Regions from separate parts of the Homo sapiens genome. Here all the other regions are linked to region 1. Evidence: promoter capture Hi-C in 16 types of primary human blood cells and fetal thymus (Javierre and others, 2016). All regions are on one chromosome and are shown on one strand. Each heading gives the region's core, a stretch centred on a gene start or on the middle of the fragment in contact. The rest is flanking DNA. Distances are from core to core; before and after follow the strand shown. Region 1 holds the start of SRRM3 (serine/arginine repetitive matrix 3). Region 2 has its middle 6.2 kb from the start of FPASL. Region 3 has its middle 52 kb from the start of MDH2. Region 4 overlaps SRRM3 (serine/arginine repetitive matrix 3). Region 5 overlaps SRRM3 (serine/arginine repetitive matrix 3).

Evidence for each region. Contacts are between HindIII fragments. The CHiCAGO score rates a contact against its expected background, and 5 or more counts as called.
Region 2: a fragment that was not itself captured here is called in contact with the fragment with the promoter of SRRM3 in region 1 in 3 of 17 cell types (endothelial precursors, M1 macrophages and M0 macrophages); the score reaches 7.0 in endothelial precursors.
Region 3: a contact is called between a fragment that was not itself captured here and the fragment with the promoter of SRRM3 in region 1, in 2 of 17 cell types (M1 macrophages and M2 macrophages). The highest score is 6.5, in M1 macrophages.
Region 4: a fragment that was not itself captured here is called in contact with the fragment with the promoter of SRRM3 in region 1 in 6 of 17 cell types (endothelial precursors, M1 macrophages, M0 macrophages and 3 more); the score reaches 9.0 in endothelial precursors.
Region 5: a fragment that was not itself captured here is called in contact with the fragment with the promoter of SRRM3 in region 1 in 3 of 17 cell types (megakaryocytes, endothelial precursors and M1 macrophages); the score reaches 6.8 in megakaryocytes.

Annotation. Positions count from the first base shown.
Region 1 is chr7:76,200,646-76,204,872 of GRCh38, forward strand. It overlaps SRRM3 (serine/arginine repetitive matrix 3), which reads left to right and starts at 1,251. Exons shown (of 15, transcript NM_001110199.3): 1 at 1,251-1,422. RefSeq lists a silencer at 1,098-1,337. The HindIII fragment of the contact is 9,812 bases long and covers 1-3,036 here.
Region 2 is chr7:76,309,938-76,314,164 of GRCh38, forward strand. No RefSeq gene overlaps it. Among named protein-coding and RNA genes, the nearest start is that of FPASL, 6.2 kb to the right of the region's middle. The HindIII fragment of the contact is 5,877 bases long and covers 1-4,227 here.
Region 3 is chr7:76,097,858-76,102,084 of GRCh38, forward strand. It overlaps the pseudogene GTF2IP7. Among named protein-coding and RNA genes, the nearest start is that of MDH2, 52 kb to the left of the region's middle. The HindIII fragment of the contact is 3,262 bases long and covers 464-3,725 here.
Region 4 is chr7:76,283,722-76,287,948 of GRCh38, forward strand. It overlaps SRRM3 (serine/arginine repetitive matrix 3), which reads left to right. Exons shown (of 15, transcript NM_001110199.3): 15 at 1,894-3,566. The coding sequence ends at 2,122. Among named protein-coding and RNA genes, the nearest start is that of HSPB1, 17 kb to the right of the region's middle. The HindIII fragment of the contact is 6,291 bases long and covers 1-4,227 here.
Region 5 is chr7:76,266,087-76,270,313 of GRCh38, forward strand. SRRM3 (serine/arginine repetitive matrix 3) reads left to right here. Exons shown (of 15, transcript NM_001110199.3): 11 at 1,172-1,349. Among named protein-coding and RNA genes, the nearest start is that of HSPB1, 34 kb to the right of the region's middle. RefSeq lists an enhancer at 618-1,363 and a silencer at 1,260-1,389. The HindIII fragment of the contact is 9,929 bases long and covers 1-4,227 here.

The DNA.
Region 1 (4,227 bases), core at 1-2,500:
TGTTGTTTTTGTTTTTTTGTTTTGTTTTTGTTTTTGAGACAAATTGAGGCTCTGTCACCTAGGATGGAGTGCAATGGAGCAATCTTGGTTCACTGCAACCTTCGCTTCTCAGGCTCAAGCCTTCCTCCCACTTCAGCCTCCCAAGTAGCTGGGACCACAGGTGCATGCATGCCACCACATCTGGCAAATTTTTGTATTTTTCATAGAGACAGGGTTTCCTCATGTTGGCCTGGCTGGTCTCAAACTCCTGAGCTCAGTGATTTCCCACCTCAGCCTCCTAAAATGTTAGGATTACAGATGTGAGCCACTGCATCCAGCCAAAATTTTAAAATTTAAAAAAATAATTTAAAATCTCCTGTCTCCATTAGGATGTCTCTCACACTACACCCTCCTTTTTTTTTTTTTAAATTTTTGAGATGGTGTCAAAAAATGACAGCCTCTGTCATTCAGGCTGGAGTGCAGTGGCGCCACCATAGGTCACTGCAGCCTCAAATTCCTGGGCTCCAGCGATCCTCCCACCTCACCTCCCTGGTGCCTTTTATTTTATTTTATTTTATTTTATTTTTGACCCTAAGTCTTGCTCTTGTCGCCCAGTCTGGAGTGCAATGGTGCGATCTTGGCTCACTGCAACTCCGCCTCCCAGATTCAAGCGATTCTCCTGCCTCAGCCTCCCAAGTAGCTGAGTAGTTGGGATTACAGGTGCCTGCGACCACGCCTGGCTAATTTTTGTATTTTTAGTAGAGACTGGGTTTCACCATGTTGGCCAGGCTGGTCTCGAATTCCTGGCCTCAAGTGATCCTCCCGCCTCAGTCTCCCAAAGTGCTGGGATTATAGGCGTGAGCCACCGCGCCCAGCCCCTGGTGCCTTCTTTAACACTGGGTGGGAAGAGAGTGTCCTGGCGAGGCCTCTGCACACCGACTGCATTTCCCAGATCCAAACTAATAACCTCCCTTGCCCCAGGCGCCTTCCAGGGCTGACATGCCTCCTCTCGCAAGTGGGGGAAACAGATGTCCCCGGGGGCTGGGGATAGGGGCGGGGGTGTGGGGAGGTGAGGGGCGAGGGGAAGGGGGGGAGGGGGGCGAAGGGGGCGGGGAGGAGGGGGAGCCGGCCGGGAGACGGCCCGGCCCAGCCGCCCGGGCTGTTGCCTCCGCTGCGGGCGTTCCTCCAGGCCTGCGGAGGGCGCTGCGGGCGCGGGGCTGGGCCGCTCTGGCTGGCGGGCGAGCAGAGAGGCGCCTCGGTGGCGGTGCGCTGTCCAGCATTTCAGCAAGCGGCGGCAGCACCCGCGGGGAGGCAGAGGGTGCGGGGCCGTGGGGGCCGCGGAGCTGCCCTGCCCAACTCAGCCCAGACTAGGCGGCAGCCCGGACCGGCGGGACCCGAGGGCCTGGCCCCAGCGCCCGGTAGATCGCGGCGGTCAGCGGTGAGGTGAGAGCGCCTGTGGGGCGGGGGCATATCCCCGAGGGGCTGGGGCTGGGTGGAAGCTCGGGCCTCCCCAGCACCCCCGTGGTCTGCAGGCTCCCCCGAGCAGAGGGGCAGTGTGGGAGGTCGGCGAGGGCGTCTGTCCGGGGGTGCCAGGCGCCCGGGGAGCAGAGATGAGGAACATTCATTTCACTGAGAGGGATGGAGACAGTGGAGACCTTTGGGGTCATGGGCAGGACTCCCCTGGGCATAAATGACCATGGCCTAGTCCATGAGGGTGCCAGGGAGGCCCCCCAACCGCAGTCCCACTGAGGAGAAGGACCTGCTCCCCAGGGAAGGGAGGACCGATGCAGTAACCCTGTGGAGATGCTGGTCACTGGCCCTGGTGAAGGGAGCAGGCCCCCACCTGGATGCTGGGCCTCTGTCCAGCAGGAGGTGCCGGCCCAGGGGACAGCCTGGCCCCTTTCCCGGCTACCCAAATGCCCCTAGGGAGGCAGGAGCTGGCAAGGAGAACTGGGTCTCACAGGATGGCATTTACTCTTGCACTGGGAAGAGGATGGAGGACACAGAAGAGAAAATAGCTACTAGGAATTTGGGAGGGGGTTCTCTGTGCACACCCCCCACCCCAACCACGGACGCCCAGAGAGAGTTTCTAGCCCAGAGTTAGACCTGCGCCAGAGTGAATTCCTGGTAAAGAAGAGAGCTGAGAAAAGACGCAGCCTCTGCCTTGCCTCCGCCTCCCCCTCCCTCCCAGGGCTCCTGCCTGGACAGTGTTGAAGCCTCCTGCAGTTCCTACTCCTGACAGCAGATCCATTGTGGGGAGAGATTTAGTGGGAGGAAGGGAAGGTTGTACCAAGGTCTGACGTGGTACTTCAATGCCTGTGCCCTATCCCAGCCATAACTTCTCGCTGTCCTAAGACCTCACTCACCCTAGCATCGGGGGCTTGAGCTGGTCTTTTGTCCCATGGCAAGAGAAAAGGCAGGTGCTGGGCTTTGACGGAGAGACGTGCACAAGTTCCTCTGTCCAGGGAGCATCTTAAGGTCATGGCCCCAGTTTGTGCCAGCTTCTTCCTCAGTCAAAAATAGGACCCAGCTGGCTAGGAAATTGTTCCCACACAGCAGTAGCTTTCTGGTTCCTTAACTTTATGCCCCATCCCACTCTCCTGTGGGGTGGAGGAGGTATTCTTGAAGACTGACTAAAGAGTCAACTGGGTTTTAAGAGGTAGGGGTATGTGGGTTGGGAGTCATGGACTCTGATGTCAGAAAGACATGGGATCAAATCTAGGTTATGTGACCTCAGGTAAGCCATTGACCTTTCTGAGTCTGTTTTCAATCTGTAAAACAGGTGTAGTGTTAGCAATGTCTACTTTGCTGTTGAAAGAAATAATCTGGATAAGGAGATGGGAGACTACTTTTACGGTATAAAATGCTGGGTGAGTGTTAGTAAATAGGAGACAAGTAAGAATTTCTTAAAGAAGAGCTGGATAAATGTGGAATAGTGTTCAGTGATATTTGAAGCACATTTTTCTGTTCCCAGAGGAGATGAACAGTGGTTGAGAGCCTCATGCCCAGCTCCATGCTGGGCACAATGCAACGGTTGACTCAGCTAATCCTCACAGAAGCTTCATGAGGAAGGCATCATTGTCCCTATTTCATAGCTGAGAAATGAAGCTTGAGTGACTTTCCCAAGGTCATGAAGCCACTCGCGCTGTCCTCCTGGAGGCAGGAGAGTTACTGATGACCTGTCCCATCCTCTGAGTATCAAGGCCCAGTTCAATGCCAGTGTCTTGATTTATGATGCCAGCTTTACAGGTGGGGAGCCTGAGGCAGGTGGGTGAGGGCATACAGTGCAGTAAGGAGGTGACTCCCACAAGGTCACTGGGATACTTAGAGGTAGAATGTGCCTTGAACCGGCCAGCGGGGTGCCTCTACCCCGTCACACCTGCCAAAGGGGGGGTCTGGGTCTGACAGTCCCATCTGCTCACTGCTGCACCCGTTCTGCACCTCCTCTGCCTCCCAACCTCTTGCTGACCTCTGCCAGCCAGTGACTGCTCCTTCCTTTCTTAGTGGTTCACCCTCACCTCCTGAGATGGTCCATGGCCAGGAGCAGCTACTAGCGCTGCTGGGGTCAGCCTCCCTTCCTGACTTTTCTCCCTCCTCTGCCCATATTTTATTGTCCCCCAGGGACAAAATCATAGCTCTTCCTGTCTCAGAAGCCTTCCAGGGGCACCAATGGGGAGGTTAGAGAAGCCCAGCCCCTCTTTCTTCACTCCTACACATACACTGAGCCTCTGCCCATGGTCCTGTAACTTCGTATACATGATCTCATCTCATCCTCACATAACCTGGACCCAAAGGTGCTGCTGTCTCCCTTTCACATAGGAGAAAAACAAGGCCTGAAGGTGTGATGGGACTTTCCCAAAGTCACAGAGCAAGGTCTTGGTGCAACCCAACCCCACTGCCTCAGGACCCCAGGATGACTTCCACAACACCACTCTGCCCCCGATTCTCCAGGCTCCCCAGGGCGAGAATCAATCCAGGCACTGTAGGCCAGTGAGTGTTGGAGAGGTGGGTGGCACATGGTGAAGGCAACTGAAGGACTCTTGAACATGAGTCCAAGGACCTTCTTTCTGGCCCTATCTCTGATCCTGGCTCCCTGTATGACCTTGAAGGGGTCCCTTCCCACCTCTTGGCCTCAGTGTCCCCAACCCTAAAATGATGGGGTTTAATGCCAGGTGCAGTGGCTCACACTTGTAATCCTAACACTTTGGGAGGCCAAGGCAGGAGGATCCCTTGAGGCCTGGAGTTCAA
Region 2 (4,227 bases), core at 717-3,216, 110 kb after region 1:
GCAGAGGAGGCGCCGAGAGCGAGCGAGGGCTGCGAGGACTGCCAGTACGCTGTCACCTCTCACCAGCTACTCGGGAGGCTGAGGCAGAAGAATCGCTTGAACGCAGGAGGCAGAGGTTGCAGTGAGCCAAGATTATGCCACTGTACTCCAGCCTGGGCAAAAGAGCGAGACTCCGTCTCAAAAAAAAAAAAAAGAAAAGAAAAAGAAAAGGTGTTCCCCTCCATGCCCCAGTGGACTAATTCGTTTGGGCAGGTACCTTTCCCAGAAACTGGCTGGCCCAACCCTTCAGCTTACAGAGGGGAACTTGAGGCCTGACTGGGACTGCATTTGGCCAGGGTCACCCAGCAGGTCTGGGCAGGGCAGGAGCAGGGTGCGTGCACTCCACCCCAAAGGGTGCACTGTTCTACCCATCAACCGATGCCCTGGGTGCCAGCGCTGAGGAGGCCAGGGATGGAGACCCACGCATAAGCAGAGATCACTCCATTCCTGGCACGCTCCTCCTGGTCGAGACCTCTGGTTCTCTTTCCCTTTCCAACTCGCCAGGTGACTTTGGACCTCGCTTTGCCCATCTAACTGTGCCTCCCAAGGACGAGCCATATTTTCATGGGCTGCTTACAAGAGACAGCCCTGCCAACCGCCAGTTGGTGCTGGGAGAGTTGGCAGTGTGACAAATGCCGGGAATCCCTGGCTTGGCTGAGAAGGGACGGCTCTGGATCAATAACAGACTCGTGGGATGGCCTCGGGCAGGAGCACGAGGGTGGCAGAGCCTCCCTGGCTGGCCTGCAAACAAAAAGCAAGTGTCCAGCCAGGGCTCTCGACTCAGCCCAGGGAGAAAAGAGCACAGCTGGGGACCCTGGGAAAAACAGACTCCCTCTGGGCGGGGTTCCTATAGCATAACAGCCCCTCCCACCCTTCTTCTCAGCTGGGTACAGCAGCTGCCCTGCCTAAGATGACAGTGATGGTATCAGCAGCTGACTCTGGTAGAAGGAAGTCTTCCCCCTCCCTGCCCACCGCCCCAGGACTGAACAAGGGGGCAGAGCCTGCCAGGAGGGATTGGGGTTAAAGAATGAATCAAGGCCAGGCGCAGTGGCTCATGCCTGTAATCCCAGCACTTTGAGAGGTTGAATCGGGAAGATCGCTTGAGCCCAGGAGTTCAAGACCAACCTAAGCAACATAGTGAGTCCCCATCTTTACCAAAAACGTTTTTAAAAATTAGCTGGGGCTGGACACAGTGACTCACACCTGTAATCCCAGCACTTTGGGAGGCTGAGGCAGGTGGTTCATCTGAGGTCAGGAGTTCAAGACCAGCCCTAACCAACATGGCGAAACCCTATCTCTACTAAAAATACAAAAATTAGCTAGATGTGGTGGTGCTTGCCTGTAATCCCAGCTACTCAGGAGGCTGAGGCAGGAAAATCGCTTGAACCTGGGAAGCAGAGGTTGCAGTGAGCCAAGATTGTGTCATTGCACTCCACCTGGGCAACAAGTGTGAAACTCCATCTCAAAGAAAAAAAAAAATTCTGAGCATGGTGGCATATGTTTATAGTCCCAGCTACTCAGGAGGCTGAGGCAGGAGGATGGCTCGAGTCCAGGAGGTTGAGGCTGCAGTGAGCTATGATCATACCACTGCATTCCAGCCTGGGCAACATAGTGAGACTCTGGCTCTACTAAAAATAAGAAATTATCTGGGCACGGTGGTGCCTGCAGTCTGATCTACTTGGGAGGCTAAGGCGGGAGAATCTCTTAAGCCCAGGAGTTCGAAGCTACAGTGAGCTATGGACATGCCACTGCACTCCAGCCTGGGTGACAGAGCAAGACCTTGTCTCTAAAAAAAATAAAGAATTGATTGAGGCGGCAGGAGTAGCTCCATGTTTAGGAAAAAGCCAGCCGGGCGAGGTGGCTCACACCTGTAATCCCAGCACTGTGGGAGGCCGAGGCAGGCGGATCACCTGAGGTCAGGAGTTCAAGACCAGCCTGGCCAACAGGGTGAAACCCCATCTCTACTTAAAAATACAAAAAATTAGCCAGGCATGGTGGCGGATACCTGTAATCACAGCTACCCTGGAGGCTGAGGCAGGAGAATTGCTTGAACCCAGGAGGCAGAGATTGCCATGAGCTGAGATAGCGCCATTGTACTCCAGCCTGGGCAACAGAGCAAGACTCCATCTCAAAAAAAAAAAAAAAAAAAACCAGGGAAAAAGCCCAGGGCTGGGGCCAGACCTTGGTTTGGGCCCGCTGCACCCTGGCGGAGACATGGGCTGGGGTGCAGCCTGGCCCTGGGCTCAGTTTCCATTCTGAGACTTCACTTCTGGGGGACCTCTGGTTGTCTGTTGGTGTTGTCAGTCCCATGCAGGGTGACGATCTAGGGGGAGTCATGAATAGTGGAAGCTACCCAGGTCCCCTAACAATCGTAGGAAGACCAAAGTCCCAGGGGGACTTGAGGATATGCAGATATTTCTGTGCATGACCAACAAGGGCCTGGGTGAGAAAGGCCTTCAGTCTGGCCCCTGACCCCACTAAGTAACCCCTTTTTTCCCTATGTCGTTCTGCTCTCCATATGATGGGCTCCTCAAAGTCCTCTTAGGAATGGCTGGGAGCGTCTATGTCTTCAGGCTGGTGGGACCACAGGATAAGGAGGTTGAAAACTTAATCAGGTGGATGGATGACAAAGAGGTCACTCCCGCCGGGTGCAGTGGCTCACACCTGTAATCTAGCACTTTGGGAGGCCGAGGCGGACGGATCACTTGAGCTCAGCAGTTCAAGACCACCCTGGGCAACATGGTGAAACCCAGTCTCTACCAAAATACAAAAAAAATTAGCCAGGCATGGTGGTGGGTGTCAGTAGTCCCAGCTACTCGGGAGGCTGAGGCATGAGAATCACTTGAGCCCGGGAGGTGGAGGTTGCAGTGAGCCAAGACTGAGCCACTGCACTCCAGCCTGGGTGACAGAGCGAGACTCCATCTCAAAAAAAAAAAAAAAAAAGGTCAGCCAGCGCAGTGGCTCACACCTGTAATCCCAGCACTTTGGGAGGCTGAGGCAGGCAGATCACGAGGTCAGGAGTTCAAGACCAGCCATGACCAACATGGAGAAACCCCATCTCTACTAAAAATACAAAATTAGCCAGGTGTGGTGGTAGGCGCCTATAGTCCCAGCTACTCAGGAGGCTGAGGCAGGAGAATGGCATGAACCCAGGAGGCAGAGGTTGTGGTGAGCTGAGATAGTGCCATTGCACTCCAGCCTGGGCAACAAGAGCAAAACTCCATCTCAAAACAAAAACAAACAAACAAACAAACAAACAAAAAAGAAATCACTCCCTTCTTTGGGTTCACCTACCCTCTCTTGGCCCTCATGCCCTCACTGGACCCCTCGTGAGTTCCCATCTGCCCCACTGATTCTGTCCCTCCCTGACTCAGCTCCACTACCTGACTGTACCCCTCCCAACACCAAGTCCCTCCTCGCACAGGAAATCCGTTCTTTCTTTCTTTTTTTTCTTTTCTTTTTTTGAGACAGAGTCTCGCTCTATTGCCCAGGCCAGAGTGCAGTGGTACCATCTTGGCTCACTGCAGCCTCCTCCCAATGGGTTCAAGTAATACTTGTGCCTCAGCCTCCAGATTAGCTGGGATTACAGGTGTGCACCACCATACCCAGCTAATTTTTGTATTTTTAGTAGAGACGGGGTTGCACCATGTTGGCTAGTCTGGTCTTGAACTCCTGACCTCAGGTGATCCGCCCGTCTTGGCCTCCTGAAGTGCTGAGATTATAGGCATGAGCCACCGTGCTTGGCTTCTTCTTTTCTTTTTGTTTTCTTTTTTAGAGACCAGGTCTCACTCTGTCTCCAGGCTGGAGTACACTAGTGAGATCATAGCTCACTGCAACCTCCAACTCCTGGGCTCAAGCAATCCTCCTGTCCAGCCTTCCGAGTAGCTGGGACAACAGGTGTGCGCCACTATACCTGGTAAGTTTCTAATTTTTTGTAGAGATGCGGGTCTCACTATGTTGCCCAGGGAGGTCTCGAACTCCTGGAATCAAGTGATCCTCCTGCCTCCACCTCCCAAAGTGTTGGGATTACAGATGTGAGCCGCCTCACCTGGCCTTTCTTGGAGTTCACCCGTCTTCCCTGAGCTCCCACCCCATGACTGCACTTCCTCACTTCCCCACTCTCCCCTCCCTTGTTTGAGGCCCCTCCCCTCTCTGAATTCCACCCCACCTGTCTCTGAACCCTGATGC
Region 3 (4,227 bases), core at 845-3,344, 100 kb before region 1:
AATATCTAATATCCACAGACTGAGATTAGGGCACCAACATATACAATGTAACTTCATACTAGAGTTAGAAGGTGACACGAAGTGTAGAAATCATAATCTTATCCATAAAGTTCCTGTCACCTTGGAATTAACCTCCCCTTTACATAGTCTCATTGTTCACCTTGTTCAGATCTTTATAGGTTCAGGCTCAGGTCTCTGCGGTCGCGCAGTGTGTCTTTTTACCAAAAGGAACACCTCATGCACTTTACAAGGAGCTCCTTCAGGAAAGGATGGCACCTCGTGTTGAGGAGAGATCTCTGATCCTCTGATCTTTTCCAAAAGGAGAAAAGTAAAGGTTTGAATGGATTTTTAGTTCTCGGCATTTTTGAACAGAAATAGTCAGGTATTAAGTTGCTCAAAGATGCCCACAAGCTTTCATAGGAGAAACATCTAATTCATAACCAAGAGTTTATGTTATTAAGTAAGCTTTCCTTTAACAGGATGAATGAATGAAGAGTTTAAATACTCTAATCCCCATTTAGTCATCTGGTATACTCTCTGTATACTCTCAGTCATCTGGTATACTCTGTCATCTGGTATACTCTCTGTGAGGTATACTCTTAAGTCATCTGGTATCCTCTCTTTGAGTATGCCAGATTATTAAATGGAAATTACTGCACCACTAAACACCAGTACTGCAAACCCTTATTTAAAAAATCGACACCTAGGACATAAAAAAAAATGATCCTAGGCTGGGCGTGGCGGCTCACGCCTGTAATCCTAGCACTTTGGGAGGCCAAGGTAGGCAGACTGCCTAAGCTCAGGAGTTTGAGACCAGCTTGGGCAACATGGTGAAACCCCATCTCTACTAAAATACAAAAAATTAGCCAGATGTGGTGGTGTGCACCTGGAGTCCCAGCTACTCGGAAGGCTGAGGCAGGAGAACTGCTTGAACCTGGGATGCTGAGGCTGCAGTGAGCAGAGATCATGCCACTGCACTCCAGCCTGGGTGCCAGAGCGAGACTTTCATCTCCAAATAAAAAAGAATGATCCTAATGCGGTTATTTCCTTTTGCATTTATGAGGAGATGGAAGAAATACCCATATTTGATGGTTGTTTGGGAACTGTCTTTGGTATTGTAGGAAGTATTTTAATACTGTGAACATGAAAAGATGAGAACCCTGCAGACCCCGTGGGCATGGAGAGAAGGAAGTACATTAGAGGATGTTGTAGGAAATACTTTCATTCCAGGCACTGCTTTTTAAACCACCCCTCAACTTTCTTTCCTTAAAAGAACAGAAAAAACAAGACAAAAGATGAAACATTCCATGTGACCCTCTGCACCCTTATTTGTTGTAATAAAGGAAAAGCATTTTAGGGATTTTCTTGAGTGCAGTTTATGATGTGATCCATGTTATTTATTTCCTGTTAATAATTTTCAAAATTTCAATTAAAGACATTCAGAAATTTAGCTTTATCACAGGCAGCTGTTCACAGGTAAAACTAGTTTGGTTACCTTCATCTGTATAAACATGTAGCTAGTGAATTGACATAACTATTAAACTGGAGAATCAACAGAAACATGCCAAGGACTGGCCCTTACCTTCCACAGTGACCTCAATTTCAGGAACCTTTTCATTACTCTCAGGGCTTCATGGTCTTTTTAGAAACTGCGAAGCTATAAAATAAAGCACAGAATTACTTTAGTATATTGTAGAAAAAAATACAGAAGGAAATGCTTTATAAGAGCGGAGTATTAAAATTCATTCAGTTTGGCTCTTTTCAAAGAAACCTGCAGAATTAAACTTGTAGTGTAATCCTCCACAGGGGACTCAACAAAGCCATGGAAACATGAATGAAGTGGGATTGCAAATGTGACACTTCCAACAAAATTTTTTTTAAAGAAAAAGAGGTCCATTAAATAAAATACCTTAAAAAGCCAAGAAATTAACTGCAAGTCCCACAAAGAGAATGGCCAATGATTCTGTGTGATTTAAGGAATGCTGATAAAGAATGTCTTAATGTAGTGAAATATAATACAAAACACAGGTAATCTCTTACCTTTAGTGTTTATTTTATTAGCAACTCCAGGAGGCAAGTAGGAAATAACCAGTTCAGGTCTAGAAAGAAAACCAAGAAATGTTACAGCAGCCAGTACAATGGTGGCCTCACAGCTAGTAAAACGGTTGTGATATGACCAGGGTTTTTTCCTAAAGGTGTTCACAGAGTCATCCTGTAATGTCACAATAATTCCTATCATTGTAGATGAAAACCCTGACTTTTCCTTCCCATGACTGGCAAGTAATTGTATGAAAAGTAAATTACTTCTTTCATGAAAAAGAAAATTAACACTAGTGTACTTTCTTCAGCCACCAAAATTCTGCAGAAACGCAGATATAATTAAAAAAAAACCTCCATCATCAGGCCGGGCACGGTGGCTCATACCTGCAGTCCCCATACTTTGGGAGGCTGAGGTGGGTGGGTCACCTGAGGTCAGGAGTTTGAGACCAGCCTGACCAACTTGGTGAAACACCGTCTCTACGAAAAATACAAAAATTAGCCGGGCATGGTGGTGCATGCCTGTAATCCCAGCTACTTGGGAGGCTGAGGCAGGAGAATCACTTGAACCTGGGAGGTGGAGGTTGCAGTGAGTCGAGATCGTGCCATTGCACTGCAGCCTGGGTAACAAGAGTGAAACTCTGTCTCAGAAAAAGGAAAAGAAACTCAATCATCAATATTTACTTGCTAATAAGATTGACCCAGGAATAACAGAGCAGATAAAACCCAGCAGATTAAACTTCATTCAAGTACTTAGGCATACTGCAAGCCACCACAGTGTGTCTGAACATCGGGGAGGCAGTGGTCACTATTCTTGCACTGATGAAGATGACTGAGTATGGGATGGGGAATGGCAGGGGCAATGGAGAGTGCCAGGACTGCAGCTCAGAGCCAGGCTTTTCCATCAAGGACTTACAGACACACCTGTCACTTCTAGCTAGAAAAACATTTTAGTAGAAATGTCATTTTATTGTTTTAATTCCAGAAATGACTACAGTGGCAAATATAACTTACTTTTTTATTGTTGTTGTTGTTGTTGTTGTTGAGGCAGAGTCTCACTCTGTCACCCAGGCTGGAGTGCAGTGTTGTGATCTCGGCTCACTGCAGCCTCTGCCTCCCAGGTTCAAGTGATTCTCCTGCTTCAGCCTCCCAAGTAGCTGGGATCACAGGTGCCCGCCACCATGCCCGGCTAATTTTTTGTATTTTTAGTGGATACGGGGTTTTGCCATGTTTGCCAGGCTGGTCTCGAACGCCGGACCTCAGGTGATCTGCCCACCTCAGCCTCATAAAGTGCTGAGATTACAGACGTGAGCCACTACGCCTGGCCTAAAACTTACTTTTTACCAACAAATTTGATTTTATTACTCCCATGGACGATCCTTTCAAGTCATGGAATTCCAAACCAGGAGGGCTTCGAAAGGGAATCCTGTCTGGCAAACCTTCTACGTACAGGAACTTGGGATTTGATTCAAACACAGGATATGGTTCTTTTACTGCCTCAGTGAGTCCAAGAACTTAAGCTGAAAGTGCAAGAGAACATAATTTGTGGAAAATAAAATCTGACACGGACATTCTTTTATTTGTATCTGCATTCTCAAGTACATTATGGACAAGTTCCCTACAATCAAGCAATATTTACTTCATATTGAAGGCATTTTGCTTAGGATATTGGCCAAATCTGAAGAACAAGCTTAAAAAATAAGTACTTTTGAGAGGAACACTTTAACCCTTTCACTCAAAAGGAGAGTTATGTTATTAGCCAAAATGACCTCCAGAGTATAGCTGGGACTACAGGCACCCGCCACCATGCCTGGCTAATTTTTTGTATTTTTAGTATACTAGAGACGGGGCTTCACCGTGTTAGCCAGGATGGTCTCGACCTCCTGACCTCGTGATCCGCCCGCCTCAGCCTCCCAAAGTGCTGGGATTACAAGAATGAGCCACCGCGCCCCGCCCACATTTTAGAAAATGAATTCTAAGACACAGAGAGTTCAACTACCTTTCCAAAGATGACACAGCTAATTACACAGCAGACCAGGTGGCCTGACCCCAGGACTTTTGCCCTTGATCTCTACACTACCATGTTGAGCACAGCAGTAAATATTTCATACAGTTTTATCCAGATTTTTCCTGTTGGTTGTGGTAAACCACGTTTTGTTGTTTGGAGACAAAGTGTTGCTCTGTTGCCCA
Region 4 (4,227 bases), core at 1,247-3,746, 84 kb after region 1:
CAGCCACACCTCCTTGCCCTACACAGCTGTGGGGCTGTGCCCAGGGCGTGGCTGGTGAAGCCATTATCAGTTTCTCTGCTAGGACTGGAAGTGTCTGGGCCTGGGTCTCCGGGTGACATTATGGTCTGCCTTTGTGGAAATCACCCTGAAGCCCTAGATTACCCTGGCAGGGGGTTGGGGGGAACACAGGCAAAAAGTTCTGAGCCCAACTCTGCCACTGCCTTGCTGGGCAGCCTTGGGAGATCGGTGTGCCTCTCTGGGCCTCGGTTGCCACATCTGTACAATAACCAGGGTTTCGTGAGCATCTTTTCAGTTCTAACAGGGTATGATTATCAAACTAGTCCCTCCTAGTCCTTGGTGATCCAGGTAACCAAGAAGCATGGGGTGGGCATTACCCCAGAGCTCAAAGCCAGACCGCCTTGAAGGAGAAGCCAGATTGTGCTACTGCTTCTTTTTTTTTTTTTTTTTTTAAGACGGAGCTTTGCTCTTGTCACCCAGGCTGGAGTGCAATGGTGCAATCTCGGCTCACTGCAACCTCCACCTCCCAGGTTTAAGTGATTCTCCTGCCTCAGCCTCCCAAGTAGCTGGCATTACAGGCACCCACCACCACGCCCAGCTAATTTTTTTTGTATTTTTAGTAGAGACGGGGTTTCACCATGTTAGTCAGGCTGGTCTCAAACTCCTGACCTCAGGTGATCCACCTGCCTTGGCCTCCCAAAGTGGTGGGATTATAGGCGTGAGCCCCCGCGCCCGACCAAATTGTCCTACTTCTAACGGATGTCCTCTCCCACCTCCTGTCCAGCCACCGTGCCCAAGGAACAAAGAGCCATTTTGAACCCAGGGATCTTCCTGCGTCCCCCCTTCCTTCTGATGCCAACTCACCAGGCTGGGGACGCCCCCAGACAGGTCACACACCCTGCCCGTAGGCCAGGCCCTCACACCTTCCACCTGGCACCCACTCAGCCCCTCTCCCAGGCTGCCTCCTCCTCCACTAACGTACACCTGTTTTCTTCCTCAGAATTAACCCTGCGACGGGGCAGTGTTGCCCCTTAACCTCTCTTTTCTCTTCTCTGGGTCATAGCCTCCTGGCTTCCAACTAACTCTGGGCCAGCGGGAGGTAGCTGAGTGAGGAGTGGGGCCGGCGGGACTGGACCGGACCGTGGGCATGGGGAGCAGCGGCCAGGACTCCCCTCCTTGTTCCTTTCGAGTGACCTGAAAGCAACAAATTCCTTGATTGCAGAGGGGACAGGGGAACAGAGAGGCAGGGCTGGGACGTAGTCACAGACACTTACACGCCAGCTTGGGTGATGGGAGCTGTCCACATTTGCAAGTTTCATTCATTCAACAAGTTTTTTTTTTTGAGACGGAGTCTCACTCTGTCACCCAGGCTGGAGTGCAGTGGCGCAATCTCCACTCACTGCAGCCTCCGCCTCTGGGGTTCAAGCGATCCTCCCACCTCAGCCTCCCAAGTAGCTGGGATTACAGGTGCACACCACCATGCCCGGCAAATGTTTGTATTTTTAGTAGAGACAGGGTTTCATTATGTTGGCCAGACTGGTCTCAAACTTCTGACCTCAAGTGATCCGCCCGCCTCAGCCTCCCAAAGTGCTGGGATTACAGGCGTGAGCCACCGCGCCCAGCCTCAACAAGTATTTATTAGCAGGTGTTCGGATCGGGCAGAGACATGGTCTCCTTTCCCTGCAGATAGGTGAAGAAAAGCAAAATGATCAACATGGAATTTGCAAGTAACCAATGACCGTCAGATTCCATTTGGAGAAGGCAGGTGTCTCTAAGGCCAGGGCTCAGGGGAAACTGAGGCAGGAAGCCCTGGCCGCTGCTGGGATGGGGCTCGGGGCCTGGGATGGCCTGTAATCAGCTTTTTCTTCCCGGCAGCGCCCGCAAGCGTCCTATTCCATACTACCGGCCCAGCCCCTCTTCCTCCTCCAGCTGCTTGAGCAGCGACTACTCGACCCGGAGCCACAGCCGCAGCCCCAGCCCCGGCCACAGCCACGGGAGCTACAGCAGTCGCAGCCATGGGACCCGCAGCCGGACACGCAGCCCCTCGAGGACCCCCAGTCCCAGCTACCACAGCCGGAGCAGCTCTGAGAGCGGGGGCTTCTGAGCCCAGACAGACTCAGCTTGGTGCCCCCCTGGCACTGGGAGAGGCGAGGGGCGGGCCCCAGGACCCCAGTGGGGAGGGGGCTATATCTCCTTGCCCCCAAGGCTACAAAGAGGTCTCAGGGCCAGTGCACGGGCAGATGGGACCGGGGAAGACTTTGAGGGTGGGCATCCAGTGGACAAGGAGAAGCCAGATGTGCTGCTTCTACGGGTGTCCTCTCCCACCTCCTGTCCACCCACTGTGCCCGGGGAACAAAGAGCCGTTACGAACACAGGAATCTCCCCATCCCCCTTCCTGCTGATGCCAACTCACCAGGCTTGGGACTGCTGCCGGTGGATGGTACCAGAGTCCATGATCTGCTCTGTCACTTCACCTTAGCTCAGTGCAGCCAGGGACACCTTGCAAGGTGCCAGCCCTGGGAGCCCCTCTTCCGCACTACACAGCTCCCTCCACTCCTCTCTTATCACTGGGCAGACGAGGAGGTGGTACAGCACATGGGTTTGGAGCTAGACAGAAGGAAGAACAGCCTAACCCTTGGTGCACCCCCATCCAAGCTGGGGAGCTGCATCCTTTTGAGCTGGCTGCAGGAGGACCCTGGCTGAGGGCTGGTGGCTGGCCCCACAGCCTCCCCCAAGCTCCTCCACTGACCCAGGAGTGCCCAGACGGGTGGCCCCCAAAATCCCAGCCTGGGGAGCTAGGCACCTCACTCTTGGTCTGACCTCTCCAGGCCAGGCTCTCCTCACCCCATGCCCTGGGCCAAGGTCCTACCAGCCATGACTACTGCATGACAAGAGGTGGGGGGTACAGACCTCAGGTACATTTGACCCTGAGGTTAAAAGGGGTTCAGGTCAAGAGGTGGGAGAGGAAAGGGGTAGATGGGAGGTGGAATCTGTAGGAAAGAGAAAAAGCAAAGTCGTTCACTGACTGAGTAGCCCCCAGGGAGTGGAGACGGGTCCCTGGGGAGGGAGCAGCTGACAGGTCAGCAGTGCCCCCAGCCCCACCCAAGAGGAGGGCAGCGTGTGCCTGTGGTCTGGGACGTGGGCTGGATGGCAGCCCAGGGTCACAGGCATAGGATAACATGTGCTTTGGACCTGACAAGGGAGTACCTTGGGGGTCTGATGGGGTCATGGCCAGCCGAGCCTCTGTAGAGATGGAGGCTACAGCCCTCAGAAGGGAGGGGAGGAAAGAGACTGAGGGCCCTGGCCTGGGGCGTCGATGGGGAAGCGGTGGCCCCCAGTCCTCTTCTGCTGCTCCCAGCCCCCTCCTCCTGGGGCCCTCAGGGATCTCATGAAGTCTTCCTTGGCCCAACCAGGCAGATGCCCCGGGCTCCAGTGGGGGGAGGGGTCTGGGGTCTGGTCCGGGTTCCCCGCTTTCTCTATGTCCCCCCTCCCTCTTTCTCCGCAGTGCGGATAAAAATTGGACTCGAATAAAACCCTTGGTGCCCGGATGGTAGGTGGTGAGACCAGGCCTCTGTGCATGTTGGCACCCCGGGAGATTCAGGAGGGCAGCGGGGCTGGGGTCTTCCTCTGAGGGAGGCGAAAGGCTCAGACTGCTCCTTGGGACCCCAGAGAGAAGAGCTGGCATCCAGGAGCCAGTGTGTCTATCCCCCTGCCTCTGAGCTTGAGGCTAAAACAGGGACCCAAAGAGACCTTCCTCCCAGCCTGGAGGCCGGGTGGACTTTGAACATCCCACGGGGTGGGCTGCCTGAGCCCACACACCCAGGCTACCTTCAGCAGTGGGTAGGGATGGGGTAGAGGGAGGAGACACAGGGTGGACATAGGCACAGGGGACACTCACAACATGGTGGGGTGTCACAGAGTGGTTGGGACACAGCCTGAGGCAGCATGCAGGCATGCATCCTGGCTCCTGTGCCTCCCAGCCATGTGACACACAGCTGAGATGAGGTGGGCAGGAAATATTCTGACAGTCCTCAGCTCAGTGACTGTGACTGCCATAGAGTGAGCATTTAAAAGGTGGCCACAGCCGGGCGCGGTGGCTCGCGCCTGTAATCCCAGCACTTTGGGAGGCTGAGGCGGACGGATCACCTGAGGTCAGGAGTTCGAGACCAGCCTGACCAACATGGTGAAACCCCGTCTCTACTGAAAATA
Region 5 (4,227 bases), core at 1,056-3,555, 66 kb after region 1:
CTCGATCTCCTGACCTCGTGATCCGCCCGCCTCGGCCTCCCAAAGTGCTGGGATTACAGGCGTGAGCCACCGCGCCCGGCCTTATTTATATATTTAATATATATAAATATTTATATATTTAATATATATAAATATTTATATATTTAATATATATAAATATTTATATATTTAATATATTTATATTTAATTATATTATATATTTATATATTTAATATAAATATTAACATATTTTAATATAAATATTAATATATATTTCAATATAAATATTAATGTATATTTTCATATAAATAATATATTTAATATATTTATATATTTTAATTTATATATATTTATATATCTATATATAAATATAGATATATATTTTAATATTTATATATATTATAAATATTTATATATTTTATATATTTATATATTTAATATATAAATATTTATATATTATATATTTAATATATAAATATTTATATATTAAATATATAATATATAAACATTTATATATTATATATTTTATATATTTATATTTAATTATGTTATATATTAATATATATTTAATATATTTATATATTATATATATTATTATATATATTTATATATATAATATATATTTTGAGACGAGTATTGCTGTGTTGCCCAGGCTGGAGAGCAGTGGTGCAATCTTGGCTCACTACAACCTCCGCCTCCGGGATTCAAGCAATTCTCCAGCCTCAGCCACCCGAGTAGCTGAGATTACAGGCGTGCACCACCATGCCCGACTAATTTTTGTATTTTTAGCGGAGATGGGATTTCGCCATTTCGAACAGCCTGGTCTCGAATTCCTGACCTCAAGCGATCCGCCTGTCTCGGCCTCCCAAAGTGCTGGGATTACAGGCGTGAGCCACCAAGCCCAGCCTAATAATAATTTTTAAAAAGAGAAATTTACCAGGGGAGTGATAACTTGAGGAAGAGCTGCCCTAAGGCCCCTAAGCCTCCGCCTGAATTGGAAATCGAGGCACAGCCTCGCTGGCTCACCCTGGTCAAGCCCTCTCTAAGTGGAAAGGTTCCCAGCATGGTGAAAAGGCAGGTGGAGGGCTGCTCTCTTTCCCCGTGCTGGGGAAGGGGGAAAGAGGAGGCGCAACTGCTTGCAAAGCGGGTGTCCCACGCCGACTCCCCCATTCTTCCTGGCGCCTAACCCCAGGCTGAGCCCCAAGCACCGAGACGAAGGGCGAAAGACGGGCAGCCAGCGGTCCAGCGGAAGCCGGTCGCCTTCCCCGTCGGGCGGCAGCGGATGGGGGTCGCCCCAGCGGAACGGCGGCAGCGGGCAGCGGAGCGGAGCGCACGGGGGCCGCCCCGGCTCGGCGCACAGCCCGCCCGATGTACGTACGCTTCGCTTTGCGGAGGGTTCCCGCGCCGCGGGCTGCGCCGTGCGTGGTCGGGCGGGTCGCCAGCGGGGCAGGGGGCGATAAGTGTGGCATGGGGGCGGGGGCGGGGGCGGCCGCTTCCTCCCTCCTCGGCTCCCCGCTGGGCGTCCTGGCTCGGGAGCCGCCGGGAGTGCTAGGCCGTTGCGCCCACCTGGCCCTGGTGTCAGGGTGAGGGGCGCCTGCGGTCTTGGGCCACCCTTGCGCTTGGCAAACTGAAGGCCAGAGGGGGGTTGACCGCGGGGCACTGAGTTGGGTACAGGGCTGGGGAGGAATCAGGGTCTCGTGCCCTCCCCAGGCATATTAGGGTGGGAGGGGCATGGACATTGATAGGAGTCCCAGGCAGGAGCAGGATTCGAGAGACAGGACCCCCCACTGGGCACCACCTGGGCCCTGAGTCTCCCTCTTCCCACCAAGCCCTGGCCCCACCTCTGAGCACCCCCCTCCCCCTCCCTCAATCTTCTCCCCAGCCCCTCCCTCCCTCAGCCCCCTCCCCCATCTCAGTCCCTCTGCCCTCTAAAGTCCCTGCTCTGAGGAGACTCTGCCCTTTTCCAGGCACCGCCCACACTTGGACTGGTGTCTCAAACCTGCCGGCTCCTCTTCCCACGGCCACCCTCCTGAGGCACCTGCCAGCGTGCCTCAGAGACCCCACACCAACACCCCCAAAACTGTCCCCACCCTTCCTCCAAGAGGGGCACAGATGCCCGAAGACCTACAGGCAGGTGCAATGGGGGAGCTGGCAGAGGAGAGAGACGTCTCAGCCTGTCCCCAGATGGATGGGCTGGGCCTGGGTTGGGGCTTCTCCCAGACCCCAGGGAAGGTCCACATCCCCTTCTGGTCTGTTGATTATAGAGTACACAGTTGAGACCCCTCAGAGAGAGGGGGCTGCAGTGCTGGCAGGGGCACTGGGGTGGGTGGGGGGGTGGCTTGGGGTGGGGAGACCTGCAGGTTCCTTCCCAGACCCGCAGACTGCCCCCCACCCAACCCCAAAGCCTCAGCTGGGAGTGGGAGAGCTGCCCCTCCCCAGACCTCAGGTCTCAGCAGCAAACATGTACGTGTTGGTCAGTTTCATTTTGATTTTTGGCTGTTTCCTTTCACTCCCTTTCTTTTCTCAAACACCCTTTACTCCCACGGCCTCAGAGAGGAAAGTCAAGGGCAGCTGACTGAAGGCTCTTGGTCTCAAGGTTAAGTTTTATTGAAGGACATTTACCTGTCTCTAGACTGTCCCACCTGGACCAGGCACCAGGCTCCTGGGCTCTGGGGGTTTTGGTTGGGCCGCGCAGGGAGGATGACACTGATGTCCCCGGATCTGTCTTGGGAGGGGGTTGAGGGCAGGCAGAGGTAGCTGAGGGTAGCATGGCAGAGGCTGGAGAGGATTAACAACCCACAAGAGGGGCACCCACCATCCCCCACCCCTGTGGGCATGGAGTCCCAAGAGCACAGGACCCGAAACACCTTCTTGCCAGCTTCTCATCCACCCTTCTGGGGCCTCCCAAGAGACACAGAGATGCGGGTTCTCTGAAGTCAGGGCTGGAAGTGGGTCCCTTCGTACCTCTGGTCCTCTCTCCAGCCCTGGAGTCCTGAGCAATGATCCCACCTCCACCCCCTCCCCAATGCAGACAAAATGGCCACAGCATCTAGGCATCCCCAGGATAGGGCAGTCGGGGAAGGGGACCCAGCCACCAGCCTTGGGGCGGGAGCTTCTGAAGCACCCACATCTTGTCTCCCTCCCAGCATGGGACTCTAGTTTGGCACAGCCCTGGGAGTTTTCTTGGAGACGGCATTTTGTGACTCCTTTCACCAAGCATGGTCCCCAAATCCTATCCCTCACCCTTGGGGCCCTGGGAGATCTGGGACTTCAGAGCATCCCGGGTCTCAAACCTGCATTCAGATCCCTGCCTCTCTGCCTTAAAAAGACCCCTGAGGAGTCAAAAGAGGCTAGTTCTTGCTCATATGCAGAAAAGTGAGATGGGGGATGGGAGAGGGGTCCCAGACTTTACCATGAACGAAACCGTCTTCGGGAAAAAATACTGGGGGTGGTATTCTTGGACGATACCTTTAAAAAAAAAAAGAAAAGAAAAAAAGAGAGAGAGAAACAAATGGAAAAAAAGGAAAGCTCAACATTTTTTAACCCCGTCTATGTTTTTGTTTGTTTTTTAGCCTCCCATTTGAAACGTGGTAATACTGTGATTCCATTTCTTGTTTAGCTGGTGAGGGAAGAGGGTGGGCAAGTTTATGTAACTTTTTCTGTTGTTTTGTTTTTATTTCCTTTTCCTTTCTTTTTTTTTTTCCCTATTTTAATGTACAGAAATGCAAACTATCTCTCTGGGTTTTTTTTTTCTATCTTCTATGTTCTAGAATTTTCTTTTTGTGTGTGTTACTGTGGGAACCTTTCCTCTTAATGCAGAGATGGCTTTTGAATTTTAAGTGAACATTAATCATATACACATCTCTATATACTTTTTTTTCCTTTGTAATCTGAATTTAAAAGGGAAGATAACTCTAAAAAAAAAAATCACTCCCACACCAACAGCTCCTGCCAAGTCAGCAGCGGCAGCAAATCCTCCTTTCAACTCCAGGCACAGGCTGGAGCTGCCGCAGATTTTAAATTAACTATAGTGGTGCAGCCTGTGCTGCTGCGTTCCCCAGGAAGCTGGAGAGAAGCGGGAGACCCAGGGAGGGGAAGAGACTTGTCCTGGGTTGCCCAGGGAGCTTCTTGGAGCTTGCTGCTACTCCTCGGTTCAGTTTAGTATAATGGGCTGGACACAGGGGACAGGGAGCAGGACAGGCTGTTCAGGACCATCAGTGTCAGACCTCAGACTCAGATCCTTAGGAA